Linked DNA regions of Homo sapiens: region 1 is linked to region 2. Evidence: promoter capture Hi-C in human tissues and cell types (Jung and others, 2019). All regions are on one chromosome and are shown on one strand. The core of a region is centred on a gene start or on the middle of the fragment in contact, and the rest is flanking DNA. Distances in the headings are between cores, read along the strand shown. Region 1 overlaps LINC00987 (long intergenic non-protein coding RNA 987). Region 2 holds the start of A2M (alpha-2-macroglobulin).

Region 1 (2,700 bases), core at 30-2,529, 140 kb after region 2:
ATGGTCTACTGAATTTAATATAGCAGTTTGGAATCACTTATCATAAGACATATATGAAAAAAATCAATAATTATTTATCTTCAAGATGCAATAGTATTCATCTTTCTAACTCAATATACTATGAAAACATTGCTTATGGAGAATCTCTTTAAAATATATTTGCTTTTATTTTTAGAAAATTTAAGTTCATTAAAATATGTTAGTTACTGTCCATGTCAAAAGAACAGGTAATTTGGGATTATAATAAACTAAAAACACTATTAGCAAGAAGTGGACATGTTAGAAAATAGAAAATGTTTTACTGATATGAAAACCAAAACATAACTTTAAGGCATATTTCAAAGGAGTCTGTACCTCATATATTATATTAATTACTACCAATGTTATTCTTAATGAATAATTATATCTGGTTGAGTATAACAAATGATTCCAACTATTACATAATTTTTAATGTGTATGCCAAATCTGTTGTAAGTGAAGAAATAAGTATATGAAGTTTGAATAGAAAACTATTTTTCTCTGTCTCAGCAAAGATTGAAAAAAATTTAAATGTATCGTTTTGCAGGGATGCATGTCTGACTTGGGGTCTTTCCTCACATCCTCAGTGCACTATTTATTTGCTCATCATCCCACCAAGATGTCTAACTTTTAGGGTGCTTAATTTGTAATTTTAATAGATCTACTGTTTTTCTAATTTTTGTGGTAGTCAACTTTCTTCTGAATCTTCTTATGAATCTTTGTTCATATTATTTTTTACAGCTGATCTTCAATTCTGATCAATGATGATTTTAAAGGTATTTAACGTGAAGTGATTGAATATAATGTCCGTGGGCTTTTACTTCTATGGTGAAGTTTTATACTGTTGCACAGGGACTGTCATATGTTTTGCAAAATCAGAATTGTTTTTCAGACTGGATTCCAGGGAGAAAATTACTTTTCTGCCAATTCTGTTTTATAATGCTTCTCTCATTTCTAGGGTGTGAAGAGGATACTGACCCACCAGAAAGAGACCCCACTGCTAGAACGAATAAGATGTGCTGAAAGCCGGAGCATAACTTGGCCATTCCCAAGATTTAACAACAAACTAACTACCCATCATTAACAGTAAAGGTATTGAAGCATGAAGGAGTCTCTTCTCAGTGGGTATGAAACACACAGAAGTCCAAACAGAACAGACACTAAGCTTCTTGGACACACCATCCAGGTTTAATAGCACTCTTTAGTAAGGTGGAATTAAAGGTTTACATCAGAATACACTGTGTATTTTTCTTATTTCACTGTATATTTAAAACAAGACAACCTAAATATAGATCTCAGGGCAGAAATGTTCACTTGCTATAAACACATTTTGTTTTAATCTCCACAAAGCCCATGTTAAAAAAAAAATCCTTCCAGGTGTATTTGAAAACAGGCATCTGAAGTAGGCGGCTCTTATCTGATCGCTAATGTTATGATTATGCTGCTAGAGTAGTGAAAATCAGATAAACAGCACCAAGTTCTGTTGGAATAAAGCATACTTATATCTCAGTGAGCTTCACATGGCAGCTTTGTATTCCTTAAATAAAAAATATGCCATCTGAACCTATGTTAAATTTTTGTGCTATCATTATTTTTAAAGTGTCCAGGCTGTTTCTCATCTGTTCTGTATTATTAAGCTGAGTTTAAACTCATGACAACCTACTGCTGTCTGTAGTGGTACATGGAAGTGTGCCAGTGTATGATGGGGTAAAATTGGCACAGCCTTGTGAGGCATCATTTTTAATCAAAATATTAGTAACAAAACATTTTAAAATTAAAACTATTAAAGGCTTATAGGTGACTTGATTTTGAAATTCATATGAATTTTATAACAAAACAAGAGACTTTTAAAAAACTGTGTTTGTGGTTGCCTGTTTTGGATGTCAGCACTAGACCTCTCAGTATGACATCACCCCCTGCCTTTAGAAGTAGCTGGGAGGAATGTTTTAGGAGCACTGTATGCCTAATTTCCTAATTTCCTTCTTTTCCACACATCACAATGGGAGAAGAATAAAAGGACTAGTCTTAAACAAAACAACCCACCTTGTTGGCAAAACAGTTTTCAATCTCAAGCTTGTCAGTGTCTGCAACAATTTCTCCATTAGGTAAAACAGTGTAAACAAGCAGATGAGCACTAGGAGCAGAGTCTGATTCCACTCGAAAGGAGAAGGAAAACACCCCTTTCACTGGAGAATTTAAAAAGAAGAACAAGTTCAGAATAACACATTAGCAACAGAATTATCAATTTGATTTTTTAAAAAGGCATTTCCAACTATAGACTTTATTTACATTTGGATCACACTGAAGTAAGAAAAGACTTTATACCACTGTGCAGGTAGTAGTGTTCAATAAATATATGCTGAGCTAATGACATTTTCCCTTAAAGATATAGGTTTAATTGTTCATTTCCTCTGTTTAAGTAGGAAAAAGACATTTAATGCTTGTCTCTATTTCTAAATTGAAAAATATTATTGAGAAAGGAGTCAAGAGAGAAGAAAGAGAACTTCTAGACATGTTTGGTTATAATTCTTGTGTGTGTAAGGGCAATATAAACAATGCAACAGTCTTTTCCTTCAGGCCATTTATAATACAGCAGGGATACAGATACAAATCACATAAAAAGCCTTGTGAGCCTTTGATTTTTATAATAGAATTCTGTGTGTTCATCTCAGTGGTTGTCCT
Region 2 (2,700 bases), core at 8-2,507:
TTGTCAAGCATCTATACATATACGTATGTATACTTATGTTCACATATATACATATATGAATACATATACATAAATACATATATATGTAACATATGTGGGTAGGTAAATTTAACTTTAACTCCTCTTTTAAATAGAATGTAACCATAAATTTATAAATATTAAACATTTCCTTCTGACTGAGCTATGTTCAAAAATACTTGTATATAACTGATCAAAACAAAATAAATACAAAGTATGATTCATACATATTAGATATAAAATTAAAATACTTTTGAAGCACATCTTTAATGAGAATGATGAGCTGTTTTTTCCCCCAGTGAATTTATGCATCCATGGATTGCAAGAATTAAACAACATTAATTCTGTTACTATTTTTGTTTTGTGTAGCTATAAGTGCTAAGAAGAATGGCTCACATAAAAGTAAATAAATGGCAGGTAAAACAATTGCATCATTGTTACCACTTCTTGCAACTTCTGCATTACATGCCAAAAATCACCTAGTACTCTATTATCAAGAATCCCTTCTCATCACTCATCAGCTGGTATTTCCTTCAGTTCCTCCTTCAGTTGTGTTGAAACAAAGAATTCATCACCACCTCATCTGCAAAAGGATTTCTCTTCTGACATTAGAGTCCCTTGCTTTTTCAATATCAACACCAGTATTTCAAATTGTTCCTTTATTTGGCACTCTATAGATTTTTATACTCCAGGGCATTGTTCCATGTTTGGTTGTGGGAGAGAATTGTCTTTATTTTTATAAAATAGAAAATGGACCCTTGAGAAAGAGGAAATAAGAAAAGATAAATAGCATGGTCTCAAGTAGATCAATATGAATGTGAATATCTAAAATTTATTCTTTTAAAAAGCTAAAAATTTCTGACACCCCTTAGGAAGGCTTTGCATATTAGAGCTTCAGAGAGTTGGGGAAGAATGATTAAAAGTAAGCAAGTAATGAGTAAACTAGATTTGTAAAATCTGGAAGGAATCTTAGAGATAAGAAGATGACAGTATCATAGGAAAGAAAAAGGAATGATATAAAGAAAAATCTGCAATAAATGAAGGACTCTAGGTTCATGCTTCACGCTCTCTGTGTGGAACTCACGGTTTTCCAGAGACTGAGGCGTCTGTGGGCAGGAGGACCAAGAGGAGAAGAACCAGACTTGGATGAAGGAGTTTGTTCTTCCCCATGTTGCAGAAAGAAGGAGCTGGAGGAGAACAGACTGTATTGTACCCTACTCCCTACAATCCATCTGGTCCCAAACACTTCCCAAAGCAACTGGGCTTTATGCTGCTCTGTGTGCAAACAGGAAGTTCCACCCACACAAGATCTCTAAACAAAGTTGAGGTCTCTGAACATTCTCTGGAAAGGTCATTGATGGCCTATTTATAGTCAAGGTTAATTCCTGGCGGGCTAAATAGAATCCCTGGAGGGCTAAAACTACATTCCCATTCCCGTAAGAGCTCACTTTTACCGTACAGCAGCTAATAAGCTTTTCAACCTCTTCTCTCCCTCACTCCCCCACAACTCCTCACAACGCCTTTTATGGTGCTTCTCACATCTCTTGTATGAATAGCTGGCAAGGAAAACTACAATTTAAGCAACACTGGGCAGGCTCAAAATAGATATTTCACTACAAGTCAGTGTGGCTGCAAGTTCTCCATTAGATATGCCTAACCTAAATGTTTGAAGCCACATCAGAATTCAGTAGTCCTCTTTGAAAATGGCACGAATTAAACCAGTAGCTTTTTGACATTAGGGATATTACTGGGTTGCAGATGAAGAGCCAGGCCCTGGAAGAATGATCATAGAAAAGAGTTTCCTGTTTTAAGAAAGTGAAACAAAGAAACGTGAAGTAACAGGACTTCAAAAACAAATTTTGACCTATTGTGCCTAACAAACTTCCCAATTGCCTTTACCATCGACTACACAGACTTCCTTACTGCCTTCCAAATATGATACTCCTCTGCAAACTTTAAGTCATATAAATGATTTCATTAATCCATCCATCCACCCATGCATTTATTCATCCATCTATTCATGTAGCTATTCAGTTGCTTTGTAAGTATTTTTTGATCCTACTAGGGCTAGACATCATGCAAGATTCTAGAGATAGGGTGGTCAAATAAGTATGAAAACAGGCACTTAAAGATTTTACATTCTTGTTGGGGCAAAAACAGACAGAAAAACAACTACTGTATAAAATACAATATAACACCTACTGTATAAAATACAGTATAAAATACAATATAAAACTACTGTATAAAATACAGTAGCCAAACATATTATTGCAGAAGTTCAGGATGCTCTGGGAGCACATAAGAGAGCACATAACCCAGACCTGGAACCTTTTAAAAAAATTTTGAGGGAAAGCAAAATGTAAATTAAGCTCTGAAGTATGAGTAGTGGTTGTCTCGAAGAACAAAGAGATGAAAAGAGCTTTCTAAGCATAACGAATGACAGATGCAAAGGAGGGAGAAGAATCACGGCACATGCATGAAATGAAAACTATTTGGTATGGAGGAAATATTCCTTTCTGATACTTCAAATCAGAAAGGAATTTGTCAACAATATTAAGGTATTCAGAGGAGTACTCAGTGGATTGACTTCAGGTTTGTTTCCTGGAAAGCTTGCTCTTATTGAAATTTGAAAGGGCAGCTAGAAAGAGGTGATCCAGGATGCAGGAAGACCAGATGGGAGCT

Evidence for each region. Contacts are between HindIII fragments. The study calls those that stand out against the background at their distance.
Region 1: a contact is called between a fragment that was not itself captured here and the fragment with the promoter of A2M in region 2, in 1 of the 25 tissues and cell types used here (hippocampus).

The regions. Positions count from the first base shown.
Region 1 is chr12:9,254,583-9,257,282 of GRCh38, forward strand. It overlaps LINC00987 (long intergenic non-protein coding RNA 987), which reads left to right. Exons shown (of 7, transcript NR_137434.2): 5 at 977-1,110. It also overlaps the pseudogene A2MP1. Among named protein-coding and RNA genes, the nearest start is that of LINC00987, 16 kb to the left of the region's middle. The HindIII fragment of the contact is 4,482 bases long and covers 1-2,700 here.
Region 2 is chr12:9,114,662-9,117,361 of GRCh38, forward strand. It overlaps A2M (alpha-2-macroglobulin), which reads right to left and starts at 1,258. Exons shown (of 36, transcript NM_000014.6): 1 at 1,103-1,258. The coding sequence starts at 1,188. It also overlaps a transcript of KLRG1 not described here. The HindIII fragment of the contact is 8,783 bases long and covers 1-2,058 here.